2 separate regions of the Homo sapiens genome follow, and region 2 is linked to region 1. The links are contacts of gene promoters, found by promoter capture Hi-C in blood cells and fetal thymus (Javierre and others, 2016). All regions are on one chromosome and are shown on one strand. Each heading gives the region's core, a stretch centred on a gene start or on the middle of the fragment in contact. The rest is flanking DNA. Distances are from core to core; before and after follow the strand shown.

The links. Contacts are between HindIII fragments. The CHiCAGO score rates a contact against its expected background, and 5 or more counts as called.
Region 2: a contact is called between a fragment that was not itself captured here and the fragment with the promoter of CRPPA in region 1, in 1 of 17 cell types (erythroblasts). The highest score is 5.6, in erythroblasts.

Annotation. Positions count from the first base shown.
Region 1 is chr7:16,420,288-16,427,557 of GRCh38, forward strand. It overlaps CRPPA (CDP-L-ribitol pyrophosphorylase A), which reads right to left and starts at 1,251. Exons shown (of 10, transcript NM_001101426.4): 1 at 779-1,251. The coding sequence starts at 1,035. LOC105375168 (a long non-coding RNA gene) reads left to right here and starts at 399. Exons shown (of 5, transcript XR_007060223.1): 1 at 399-695; 2 at 2,693-2,750. RefSeq lists silencers at 842-901, 922-1,061. The HindIII fragment of the contact is 1,514 bases long and covers 653-2,166 here.
Region 2 is chr7:16,267,627-16,274,896 of GRCh38, forward strand. The region is part of intron 6 of CRPPA (CDP-L-ribitol pyrophosphorylase A); the gene reads right to left. It overlaps CRPPA-AS1 (CRPPA antisense RNA 1), which reads left to right. Exons shown (of 5, transcript NR_038947.1): 5 at 1,231-2,978. Among named protein-coding and RNA genes, the nearest start is that of CRPPA-AS1, 61 kb to the left of the region's middle. The HindIII fragment of the contact is 2,368 bases long and covers 2,561-4,928 here.

The DNA of each region.
Region 1 (7,270 bases), core at 1-2,500:
ATATTTGTAATGCCGCTGCTTCCCACCCCTGCACCCTCGCCCCAAGCTCCACCTCATTACTCAGTGCTAAAAGCAAAGTAAGTTAATATTATAACATACCCCTTCATTTCACTTCCTCAGCTCCTCACGACTGTTCCCCTAGTCCTCCTTATCCCATTCCCTGTCTCCTTCATTTCCCCAACTAGTTAACTTCAGTGCCCTTTCTAAGATAAAGGGGGTATGACCTCAAATTCAGGCTTAAAGCCCTTTCCACCATTGAAAGGTTATTAAATTCTGCTCCTCTCCCCTCCTGCAGCACCTAGTAATTAGCGCAGCCTGTCTCACAGAAGGTGCTCAGTAAATGAATGAAAAAAACGAACACACGCCCTGGAAACTTCAGTGTGCACGTACAACTCAATCCACGCATGCGCGGAGGCAGAGCCCCAGGACCGCGAGACTATCCGCACAGCTTCTCCTCAGGCCCCACAGCTAGAACCCCAAATCGCCTAGTCCCAACCCATGCACTCTCTAATCGGCGCCACACGACGGGCCTTCCCCACAACCTCATCTGCTTGGGGACGTAAAGGGCTCTGTGGGGGAGCTGCAGCTTTCGTGCCCATCTGTTAAAGGCCAGAACTTCCCATCTCTGAAATGCGGGAGGGAACAGAGCTCAAGCTTGAATAACTGAGCGCGGCCCGGCAGTCCCCCAAGTGAAGGTGCTAGCGCTAGAGCAGCGGCAGGGCGGGGAGCGGGAGGCCGGGCCCCAGGGAACCGCGGGGCGCGCCCGGCGCCGCATTACCTCTCCAGGGCCTGTAGGGTGTAGCTGATGAGCGGCCTCTCCAGGATGGGGCAGAATTGCTTCGGGGTGGGGACCCCCATCCTCTCCCCGCACCCCCCGGCAGGCAACACAGCTGCCACGGCTTGCGGGTGGCGCCCGGGCTCGGTCCCGGCCACGCTCTGCAGGGAGGCGGAAGCCGTGTGGTCCGCGCCGCGCTGACCACTCAGGCAAGGACCCGGCTCCGCCGGCCTGGCGCTGCCCGGCGGCCCGGCCTCCATGGCTGCGGGCGGAACGGCGAGCCCCGCTAGCCTCGGGCCGATGCGACCCCGCGCTGCTCCCACCCTCGGCCGGGGTCGCGGGGCGAAGGGCAGACCACGGAGAGGGACGCAGAGCGCGCAAGCAGAAGGCGCCCCCCTCAGCCGTCGGAGCCCCGCTGTTGCTGCCCCGCAGGGGACGATCCCGACAGCTACGGCAGCAGCTGAGGCTGCCGATCTGCCCTCGCGGCTCGGCTGCGGCCTCCGCACCCGGTCCCAGCGCCTGCGGGAGGGCTGACTTGCCCGCTCTGCGCTTCCCCCGGGCAGGCCCAGCTGTCGCCGCAAGTGGAAATGTCAGAACGCCCTACATATCTAAAGATCGCAGATACTCAAGGGCCATGAGTATGCAGGAGAGGTCAGGCCTCTGTCCCATCCCTCCCTGCTTTAAAATTTCGGAAGAGATTGGGATTCAAGTCACAGGATGGGACGTAGGGTGCGTATGCACCTCGATTATCTGAATTCCATTAAGCTCTGGAGGCTTCCTGGTTCCACCTGGGGTAAAGACAGATGGATTAGCAAGTGTTATTGTGGCACATCAATAATCCAAACTGTGGTGGCTCTCAAACTTGTCTGCACTTTGGAACCACCTGGGGAGCGTGTCCTGACACGCTCAGAGATTGGGATTTAATTGGTCTGGTGAGCACCGGACTTTGGAATGTTTTTAAAGATCCTCGGGTGATTCTGATGAGCAGGCATGTTTTGGAACCATAGGGTCAAAGCAATACTAATTGCTGAACAATCGATACACCTTATGTCATTTAGTCCCCAGAAGAACTCAACTATTGCCATTTCCCTTTTTACAAAGGGGAAAAGACGTTAAAATGGTTAATTTATGTAAGATTGCACAACTAATGGCAGAGGAGCCTTAAGGCCCTCATACAGAAGTAGGCCAAAGTTGAAGAATTCCAGGCCTAAAGCATATCTTACCTTATTTAGTACTCTTGTTGCTGGTGAGGTTTACCATGAAAGTATAGTGAGAATTTGGAGGAGAGCACTATTGTATTAGGTCCCTGGAATGTAAACTCCATGCAAGCAGCAACATTTTTCTTTTGGCTTGGGTTGTGTGTGTGTGCCCAGCTCCTGGAATGTAACACAAGCTTAATATGTATTGAATGAATTGCTGATTAAATAGATTAATGATCATTAAAGTGTATAATCATCAGTAATTCAGTCTTAATCCAGTGGCTTATGATTAATAAAAAATAATCTTTTTAAACACTGGAAATGTTATCTAGTTGTAGTATTACAATTTTTATTTTTACCTGTTTTCTTGAGAGCATATAAAAATATGTTTTCTGCTTTTCCTTTTTGTTTAGTCTTATTGAAGGCATTCTTTCACTTTTGTTACTTTTATTATAATTAGCATTTAGGTCCTGTGCTAGTTGGTTTCTTAACTGAAAAGTGGGTGCCATAATATACTTCCTTGTAATTTTTATTGCTATCGTTCCTTTCTAATTTGATCTCGAGGTCTCTCTCTTACGAGTGGCCATAAGCCAGAACAGCCACTCTTCAGGAGAGCCCTGGCCCAGAGAGGAAAGCTAGGTTCTGGTGTGCAGGTGAGACGCCAGAGGAGGCAGCACACAAAACATGTGAAATAACAGGCGCATTTTATTACTTACAGATTCACCAGAGAATAAGCCTGATGGAAGTCTGGAGATAACAGGACTCCCAACCAGCAGGTGGGGTGCAAGAGAGAGGACCTGTGGGGCTGTGTTAAGGTCCAAAGGCTTTATCCCTTAGGCTTTCCAGAGGGGGTTGTGGATTGACTAGTTTAAAGAAAACACCAGCAAAGGGAGAACTTGACTCTGGTGTTGACCATTGGGTTTTATCATGGTTAGCAGCTGTTGGGTTTTTGGTCATGGAATGAGGAATAAGTGTTCTATATCACAGGGAGGGGAAGTTTTAAGTAGGCCACAGGTGACGTGATACAACTGGGTTTCAAACAGCTTATATCAGGCCTAAAAATGGATGCCCAGGCAGCAACTATATTAAACAAGTTTGGCACAATACTTGACTTCATAGCGCCACTACCACACCTGTATCAAGCATTTAAATATCTGTTGACTAACTGGGTGGATAAATAAATGAGTCTATCTATGAGAGCAGGAAGGCAAATCGAATTAGTATTTCTATTAATATTGATCTTTAAACCTCCCTTTTTAATCTAAAGGTGGAGTTGTTATAAAGGTATTCTTCCTTTACTTAATCTTGAGTGAAGAAAAGTAGAGTAATAAAGCTCTTGTTATACTAATTGCTATAGAATAATTTTATATAATTAAACATTGACAAATTTTAACTAGAATCTTAGTTTTGTTCTTAGAGCAGATATATCAATTTAGATCTTCCATGAATCCTTAGATCCTTAGATCTTATATACTGTATATTAACAATGTCTAGCAGACCAACTTGTAGAGAAAAAAGGGCACATTAAAGTATTCATTCATATACGTAGTATGAAGCAACATTTTTCTCTCTGTCCTTTTTATATAAATATAATTAGTTCCATGTTTTGCATACTTTGGGGTAACAGATGTAGCTTCCTTGTTACTTAATACCAAGTTATAGCAGCCACAATATGAGAATATCTTCTCTGCATCAGGCATGTGAAAGTACATACCCTGAAAAGTGAACTCCTCTGGGACCCATTGGTAATAACAATTCTAAGATATCACTTGAAGAGTTTAGAAAAAATAAACCCCAACTGAATCATGAGGCAGAGCATGCAGAGTTGGAAGTTCCTGGAGTGGTTTCCATTTTGAGCTTCCAAGTAGGCAAAATAATGACTCCCCAAAGATGCCCATGCTCTTATCTCCAGAAGCTATGAATATGTTACCTTACACTGCTAAAGAGACATTGCAGATGTGATTAAGTGAAGGATCTCAAGATGGAGGGGAGTAGCCTGGATTATCCAGGTGGGCCCTGTGTAATCTCTGGCATCCTTATAGGAGAGAGGTCAGAGTTAGAGAAGGAGGTATGAGGATGGAAGCAGCCATCAGAGTGCAGAGGGGTGGGAATGTAGGCAACCTCTAAAAGCTGGAAAAGGCAAGGAAACAGGTTTTTCTCTTAGAGCCTGCAGAATAATATAGCCCTGCCACCCCATTTTCAGATTTCTGATATCCAGAACTGTAAGATAACATACTTGAGTTGTTTTAAGCTGCTAAATCTGTGGTAATTTATTATAGCAGCAAGAGGAAACTAATACAGGCTTCACACTGAGGAAGATTCTCATTTGGACTATAATCTGCAAATGAAGTTATACGTAGTTAGAAATGCAGTAATATGATTGAAAAAATAAGGCACTGTTCATTCAACTTTATGTCTCGTTACTAGAACCCCAGTATTGACTTTTAAAATAAATCCTTTGTCTTGTGAATTTAAAAATGTATTATAAATGTTTAAAGCATAACTTTGTTAAATGTATACCACGATTTCATAACCTGGCTTTGGCATGCCTTTAATTTTTTAAAGTAGACTAAGTGTAGTTTTAGGTTCACAGCAAAATTGAGAGAAAGGTACAAAAATTTCCAATAGCTCCCTGCCCCACACATACATAGCCTCCCACATTATTAACATCTCCCACCAGAGTGGTACATTGGTTACAACTGATGAACCTACAGTGACACATCATTATAACCCACAGTCCCTAGTTTACGTTAGAGTTCACACTTGGTGTTGTACATTCATTCTATAGGATTGATAAATTTACAGTGATGTGTATCCACCATTACAGTATCATGCAGAGTAATTTCACTGCCCTAAAATCCTCTATCCTCTGTCTATTCATGCCTTCCTCTCCTCTAATCCCTGCCCAATCCCTGGCATCCAATTATCTTTTTACTGCCTCCATGCTTTTGCCTTTTCCAGAACATCATATAGTTGGAACCATACAGTATTCTTTTCAGATTGGCTTCTTTCACTTAGTAATATGCATTTAAGTTTTCTCCATATCTTTTCATGGCTTGACAGCTTCTTTCTCTTTAACACTGATTTTTTTTTTTTTTCTGGATGTACTGTGATGTATTTATTCACTCACCTACTGAAAGACATCTTGTTTGCTTCCAAGTTTTGGCAATTATGATTAAGCTGTAATAAACATCTCTGTGTAGGGTTTTTTTTAATTTTATTTTAAGTTCTGGGGTACATGTGCAGGATGTGCAGGTTTGTTACAAAGGTAAACGTATGCCATGGTGGTTTGCTGTACCTATCAACCCTTGACCTAGGTATTAAACCCAGCATGCATTAGCTATTTTTCCTAATGTTCTCCCTCCCCACTCCCCATCTCCCTACAGGTCCCGGTGTGGTTCCCCTCCCCGTGTTCTGATTATTCAGCTCTCACTTATAAGTGAGAACATGCGGTGTTTGGTTTTCTGTTCCTCTGTGCAGGTTTTTATGTGTACAAAAATTTTCAATTCCTTTGGGTAAATACCAAGGAGAAAGATTGCTGAATTGCACGGGCAAAAGTATGGTCAGTTTTGTAAGAAACGGCCAAACGGTCCTCCAAAATAGGTATACCATTTTGCATTCCCACCAGCAATGAATGAGAGTTTCTGTTGCTTCACATCCTCACCAGCATTTGGTGTGTCAGTGTTCTGGATGTTGGCCATTCTAATAGGTGTGTAGTGGTATCTCAGTGTTGATTTAATTTGTATTTATTTGATGACATATGATGTTGAGCATTGTTCATATGCGTATTTGTCATGTGTATCATATTTGGTGAGGTGTCAGAGTCTTTGGCCCACTTTTTAGTTGGGTCATTTGTGTTTTTATTGTTCAGTTTTGAGAGTTCTTTGTTTATTTTGAAGAACAATTTTTTATCTGATATTACTTTGGCAAATATTTTCTCTGTGGCTTGTCTTCTTATTCTCAACAGTGTCTTTTGCAGAGCAGAAATTTTTAGTGATAATGAAGTCCAGCTTATCAATTGTTTTTCATGGATCATGCCTTTGGTGGTGCTTTTAAAAAATGATCACCTAGGTTTTCTGCTATGCTATCTATTAGGAGTTTTATAGTTTTGTGGGTTTTTTTAGGTCGGTGATTCATTTAGGTCAGTGAGTTTTGAGTTAATTTTGTAAAGGGTATAAGGTTTGTCTAGATTATTTGTTGTTTTTGCATGTAGATATGCAGTTGTTGCAGCAACATTTGTTGAAAAGACTGTCTTCGCTTCATTTTGTTGCCTTTGCTCCTTTGTCAAAGATCAGTTGACTGTATTTATTTGAGTCTAATTCTGGTTTCTTTATAATGTTCCATTGATTCATTTGTACATCCTTTAGTCAATACCACACTGTCCTGATTACTGTAGCTTTTTATATGTCTTGAGATCCAGTAGTGTCTGTCTTCCAACTTTGTTCTTCTTCAATATCGTGTTGGCTATTCTGGGTCTCTTGCCTCTCCATATAAACTTAAAAATCAGTTTGTCAATGTCCACAAAATAACTTGCTGGTATTTTGATTGGGATTGCATTGAATTTATAGATTAATTTTGGAAGAACTGACATCTTGACAACATTGAGTCTTTCTACCCACAAACATGGAACATCTTTACTTAGTTCTTTTGTGATATCTTTCATCAGTTTTGTACTTTTTCTCATATGGATCTTGTACATGTTGTCTTAAATGTACACCTAAGGATTTCATGGGGGGGTTAATGTAAATAATACTGTGTTTTTAATTTCAAATTCCACTTGTTCATTACTGGTATATAGAAAATGACTGACTTTTTTGTATTAACCTTGGATCCTACAGCACTGCTATAATCACTTATTAGTTCCTGCCGTTGTCTTTACTTTTTAGTATGCACAGAAGTGCACAATAAATGGAAGTGGCTCTCATCTTTATATCTGAAATACCCAAAACTTACTTTTTTGTTTGTTTGTTTGTCTTTACATGTTAGTATACCTCTCTGGAATACTTGTCTTAGAGATTTCTTTTATTAGAAAATTTTAGTTTCCAGTGGGTTAATTTTTTTAGTATTAACTCAAATATAATTAGCACTACCAGTCATACCCCTCCTCCCCAGCTACACTTATTGTTTTAGTACCCTTTCTTGAGATTAGTTGGGGTGTTTCTCATCAGTACTAATGAACAGCTTAACGGTTCATCCTTTAACTCCACTGAAATCAGAGCCAGAAGAAATAAATTAACATTCTACCATGGGCCATCCCCATAATTTCTGGCAGCCTATGAATTCTAATTTCTGTTTT
Region 2 (7,270 bases), core at 2,495-4,994, 150 kb before region 1:
ATAAATGACTAAAATTAAACAATTCATTAATTCAACTTTTTTCCCTCAAATTCTTGCTAAGTTTACAACGTAATTTAATTTAAATGCATAAAGTTTTTATTTTTCCTAAGTAATAAAGATTCTGTCTAAATGTACAGTCTGCCTCCAGAATCTGTTGGTTCCACAGTTAAGGATTCGAGCGTGGGTCAAAAACATTTGAAAAACAAAACTAAACAATAAAAATACAAATTTATAAAAATACAGTGTAACTATATAGCATTTATATTGTATTAGGGACTGTATGTAATCTAAAGATGATTTAACATATACAGGAAGATGTATATAGGTTATATGTAAACGTTATTTCATTTTATGTAACGGATTAGAGCACCCATAAATTGTGGTATTTGTAGAGCAGAAAGGTAGGTCCTGGAACCCCCATATAAATTGAGGGACAACTGTATATAGAAGTATAATTGCAGCCTGTTTCCATATTAAAATCATGTGATGAGAAAATGACAATCACTTAAATGACATGATTGATATTGTACTGCAAATGTGACAATTGTCTAGATAAGAAATATTATCTAGACAAATGTCTAGATAAGAAATATTAAAAAGGTTCTCAACAACCTCCATTTTCCACCTAGTTTTTACAAAATGATAGAAAATAAAGAAAATTAAAATCAGCTATAATTTGTATGAATAGCTTACCGAAGAGTCCTTTCACATGTAATCCCAAGAAAATCATGCAATAGTCTTTTAAAGAATATTCAGACACCATCCCAATATTTGTTCAACCTGAAAACTGCCATCAAACCCTATGTAATAAGCAAACTATTTTTCATTAATGTATACTCCTCTTGTATGAGAAATATACTTGCAATATTTATACATAAAATTTCCCTCTCATACAACTTTCCCATTATGACTTATGAGGAGCCTGTTGAATATACATTGTTTAGCTTAGAGGTTCAAAATATTTTAAAAATACTAAGGATAAATTACATTTTGAACAAAAACTCGATCATGTGACTTGTTTCAGAACTAAGTATATACCATATAATATTTTTTAAACAGTACATTTCTAGACAATATAGAAAAATAGATTCAAATATGTAATATAGAATCTTACGGTAGAGTCTACAGAATACATTTTAAAAATATTGCTTATGGCTTATTTTCTTCACTCCACTAGAAGGTCCCCTCTGCAGTGCTCATTTCTGCAACACTGTCTTTCTTTCCTGACAGAAGGCTGCTCACCACCAATTTCATCACTGTTGCTAACTCCAGCTCATCTAATCTCTGCAACATCTGCTACCAGCACCTTCTCTTGCCTCCTTTTGTGAACATAGTTTTTTCTTCTGGTTAGAAAATCAGTTCGAACTTCTTGAGTTTTGTGTTTTAAACTCTTCTCAACTGTTCCGATGATTGATGGATGGCCCAGAGGCGACCTCTTTATCTCCAGCAACATATTTGGCTGTTGGCCCGGTAGAGAGGTACTCCAGAAGCTTGCTGGTTCATCATGCTCTCATCTTTAACCACAACTATTTATCTGACTCCTTCCATCTCCACAGCACTGTGTGAGGGATCAGTGATAAGAGACGGTGAAAGACATGCGCAAATGGATAAATAATAAGCAGGATATGTAGAATGACACAACAATTGATGAGTAATTTAGGAGATCCAATAACTAAAAAAAAAAAGACTGGGGACAAGTTCATGGAAAGAGTAATCAACTAAGCCTTATAACATAAAATTGACAAATAGAGAAGGCATGCAATCCAGTAGAATAGAGTGCAAAAGAGGTAGAAGACTAATCGTTTCAAGACATGTTGAGCCACAACAGCAATAACATTGTGACAAAAAACGTCGGTGTAGACTGCAGAAGATCTTCAATGACGGATCAAGCTGTATAGACTTTTTTTTACCCTCATATACTGAATAGTCATTTAAGGTATACAGTGCCAACGTAAGAGAGAAAGGTAAACTTTTTTTAACACAAGTTGTAGGCCTTGGAAAGAAGTTTTCCAGTAACAAGATAACACGATAATGTACTGTGGTTATAAGCTCAAAGTGGTATATTTGATTCAGTGTTCCCAGAACCACCAAAACCTTGGAACCATTGTTTAGCTAAAGCTACTAGAACAACAGAATAACCTACTCTGTGGCATTGTAAAGTAAAATTATACTACACACAAATACTTGACATAAAATACATTTCCAAACTCAATTATTAGGGATAACATAAGCACAAAATGATGCTTTGCAAACATCATGTATCCTATAACTGGAGAAAAAAAATTAATGACATGAAGTGAAATGACTGAGTTCTGAAGCTACATCTCAATTTAAATAGCATAAGCAATTTAGTATACAACATTCTTCAAAATCAATTGTTGAAGGTTAACTATAATCTACATACAAAAACAACTTTGTCAACTTTTTGTACGGATTTTCCTTCTAAACATATTTACTTTATGTGTAAAATCAAAAAATTTCCTGAGTTAAAGGCTAAGACTTGACTTTATGAATACATGCCCAAAAATTGGTGGTGGCTGGTTTCTGTTTTTATTTTGTAAGCTTAGTATAATGGTTGTCCAGAACTTGTAAGCAATGACCTCATTTCTAAGCGGACAAGATGCAAAAGACCATTTTTACAGATTAACCATCTGGTTCCTTTAGGAAGAGTAATATTTCAACAGGTTCCTGTATTTCAAGAATATAAATAATTAAAAAGATGAAGATATGTGAAATACACAAAGAAAAAAATAGAGAAAATAGCATTTAAAGCAAATTATCCTAGCTCCCTCAATTAATATTTTAAAACCATGACAATCAGTTATTAATATAAATTGTTAATTTTATTTAATACAACATCAATATAATTCATACCATCTTCTTCAACTAGGTGGTCTATCATTTTGGAGTTTCTTTCCACCTCTGGAGAATTGCTCAGGAAATCTGGCTAACATACCAAATAAATCAAATGGATTTAATGAGATGGTTTTTGGCTAGTTTCTATATTCTTGTATACACATGCATGTAACACATAAATGTGGTGCTGTTCACAGTTAGAGGCGCAAGAGAAAAAAGTAGCTTTCCAGTGTTATTTCATTGTTATTAACTATACAGTATTCAGGTGCAAACAAATGAAAATCCTGTATATTCACGCTAAAATATAATATGTATCAAAATAAGCATAAAATAACTGTTTTGGATAGGTCTTAGGATGCTGCTGTGGCTTAATTTGCTCTGTTTATGTTCTCTCCGCTTTTCTTTATTGCATGTGCTAGTTTTGATGTGTTGTTTGACTAATATGTCATACGGTGAATTTACTGAGGTCTATAACAAAAGGCATGGATCCATACACTGGACACAACCTTGAGGGCATAAGGGAAAAAAAAAAGAAACTAAGTACCATAGAACAGCCTCAACAAAATCAGAGCATGCTTTACACGTGATTTTCAGTTACACCCTGCTTGTCATTTGTGATTACTCAAAACAATAATTAAATTACGTCCTCCAGGAAACAGGAAGGAGTGGATAACCAAAATACATGAAAAGCCCCTACAGTCCCTGTTTGTTCAGAGTATAGATCAGCATTCTTTAGGAGTTCCATTCTTTTATTACAGGAATGAATATTGGGTTGAACACGCTTATATGCATTTAGAGGTAATGTGATGTATGAAAACAAGTACTGCAGAGGTTTCCTCTGTAGAACTGTACTTTTAAGAGGAGCAGCCACCATAATCTTCTTGTAAAGGTAAACTGGATCATGTCATTTTCAAATAAAGTCTTCTCTCACTTCATTTTCCCCTTAAAACAATATATAAATGATAATAGTAGCAACGGTAACAGTAGAAGTGGTAAACTCAACATAAAAAGCCTACAAGGCTCTTTCCTTGTCTCTTGCTACTCCCACTTCCACTCCATTTGCATCTCCAACCACAGATGCTTTCTTTCTGTGCCCCAATGAAGCTCTTTATGTGCCTTTCACATACTGTTACTTCTGGTTTGTTCTTTAAATAGATAATTATTTATTGCCCTTAAAGACTTAAGTTAAATACCACATCTGCCAAGAGATTTCACTTACTGCCTTCCACTCCCAATCTAAGTCACTTTCTCTGGCTCTCTTATATAAGCACAGTTATGTTTTCCTTAGAATATTCATCACAATTTGACATTTTAATTTGCATTCATTTACTTTTTATCCCCAACTGGACAATATGCTCCTTGGAAATAGGAAATCATACTTGCTCAGTTCAACTCCCTGTATCTAGTGACTATATCATGACAGGCATTTATTATTTGGTAAATAAACTAGAGAATTTAGGAATAAAAGACTAATCATATCTTCCCACTTATAAATTCCTTACTACCTTCAGTTCAGTATATAGTATAAACTATTTTTGGATATTTACTGAAAACTGGGAAGAAGTGAGAGAGGTCCCTTTAAAACTGTCTACCACCCTGATCTATCTCTGGAGAGCTCTATCTTCAAAGCTGGTAAGGTCTGTGAAATACTTCAAATTGCTGAGAAAAACGGAGGAGGAAAATAGCAAGACTGATAGCAAAGCCTTGTCCTTTAAGAATCAGTAAAAAGTGCCTGTGAATGGGGGGAGTAGGAGAGGTGCCTCTCCCCAAGTTAGCTCTTTACTTAACTTTTTAACAACCTCTTCCAGGTATTTGGTGGGTATCATTAAAGTTAGATGTTTGGTTCACCTGTAAGGTATGTTGCAAAATTCTAGTACAGATAATTACAATAAACATACCCAATCTTTTCCCTTAATTTCAAAGGAAAACATTTTTTCTTTTCATGTTAACAAAACAATCCTCCCATTATGTGTTGAGCAGCTCCACACCCACACTGATCTGCCCTACAGATGCCAGGATTTCAATAGTGGTGACTTCATCCTTTTTACACATTCCTTTCAAAGTAGGATGAAAGCTTTGAGAGGTGAAAATGTTAGAATACGTTGCATTTTGTATTTGTAAGTTATAAGCTGAAAAATGTCATGAGATAAATTTACCTTTATAAGGGAAGGGAAAAAGTATATAAAACTACATAAATCCTTTCCTAAGGGGATGTCTTTCAGACATTAGGTATTAGCCCTTTGTCAAACTTAAAAATCTCAGTCTTTTATCTCACCTTTCCTTAGAAGAATATTAATTAGTAGAGACCATTTTGAATCAACTAGCATCTATATTCACTATTGACATGACCTCAGGCAAATCAAACTGCAAGTTTCCCTATTTCCATTTGTAAAATAAAGGGGGAAATCATAGGGTTATTTTTTTTCCATTTATATATCTTGTTTGAAAGAATGTCTATTCATATCCTTTGTCGCTTTTTTTTTTATTTTATTATTATTATACTTTAAGTTTTAGGGTACATGTGCACAATGTGCAGGTTAGTTACATATGTATACATGTGCCATGCTGGGGTGCTGCACCCATTAACTCGTCATTTAGCATTAGGTATATCTCCTAATGCTATCCCTCCCCCCTCCCCCCATCAAAGGGTTATTTTAAAGAGAAAAGAACTGCATAGTACTGATACAAACAGGAGACACGGAAATCCCGGGTAGAAGAGGACAGTCCCTGGTGAGGGCCACACCCTTAGGCCTGGGTACTGTGGCCCAAAGTGAGAACATGCATTCCTGTTTTCCCACTCAAATGCTGCTTTTTGGCTCTCCCTGCCTCCCATCTTGTACCCATAAAAAACCCCAAGCTCCACTAGCAGAGTGATGGCAGAGGGGCAGCAGAGTGGAACAGCAGGGGCCAGAAGAGAAGCAGCAGCTGTCAAAGAGAAGCAGTTTGACTTCAGAGGGACAGCTTGAAGGTGGGACTTCAGAAGGACGGCTTGACGGTAGGACCACAGAGAAGAGGTCAGCAGGGGATAGCCAAACTCCAGGGGAAGACCACCTTTCCACTCCATCCCCTTTCCAGCACCGCATCCCACTGAAAGCCACTTCCACTCGTCAGTAAATCCTCCACATTCACCACCCTTCAATTAACTGATGCAGCCTGATTCCTCCCGGACACCGAACAAGAACTCTGGTACCAAGAGGGCTGGTGCAAAAGGTTGTCATCCTACCCTCCACTGAGCTGTTAAACACTTAAGCTGTTTGTAGACAGCAAAGGTAAAAGAGCACAATGTAACACACGTCCTCTGGGGCTTCAGGGGTCATGGATACCCTGCTAGATGTAGCCATGGAGCTGCATGAAGTTCTATTCCTGCCATCGCGCCCAGAAGGACTTGTCCTGGCCTCTGTACCTGCTCACCTGCATGCTCCCTGTCCCATGAGAGGTGGAGAGCTGTGGGCTGATTAAATGAGCCAACCCCTTAGCCAGTCCTGCGAAGGGGCCAGGGGAACTGCCCATTTCAGTACTACTCCTGACACTCCATAATCAGTGTTGTGGCTGTTTTTGTTTTTGTTTTTGTTTTGTTTTGTTTTTGAGACGGAGTCTCGCTCTGTCGCCCAGGCTGGAGTGCAGCGGCGCGATCTCGGCTCACTGCAACCTCTGCCTCCCGGGTTCACGACATTCTCCTGCCTCAGCCTCCCGAGTAGCTGGGACTACAGATGCCCACCACCACGCCCAGCTAATTTTTTGTATTTTTAGTAGAGACAGGTTTCACCGTGTTAGCCAGGATGGTCTCGATCTCCTGACTTCGTGATCCGCCCACCTCGGATCCCAAATTGCTGGGATTACGGACGTGAGCCACCACACCCGGCCTGTTGTGGCTGTTTCTAAGAGAAAGCATTCTCTTAAGTTTGTGTGGCATAACAGGTTTTTAAACTTTTAATTCTTTTTAACCAAATTTAGAAGTCAGGGAAGGCTTAGCAGGAACGATATCTCCTTTCAAGGTGAACCAAGATTCTCTGAGTAAAATAACAGGACACCCAAAGTTCAGTTTTAGAAGTTCTACATTAGCTCCTCATTAAAAAAAAATAAAAAGTCTAATTTATCTCCAAAAAGGAAGATATTAAATTAAGAAATTTTTGAGGAATGGTGATTTTCTTACTTTTGAATATATGAATACTTCTTAGTTTTATTATATGAAGGAAATCCCTAACTTCAAGCCAAACCTAATTTTTTAAAAATTCCAAATTTGCTATGTCTGTCTATATTTATAGACGAATTAGATACTTGAAATTAAAAGAGAAATTTAAGTGATCTTTAAAAATTATAAATGGCCAGGAGAGCACACGAACAATAAAGGGGAGAAAGATTCTGGAAACCTAGAAATATGATTTTAGTCTTTGAATCTCTGCAGACCCTTCAT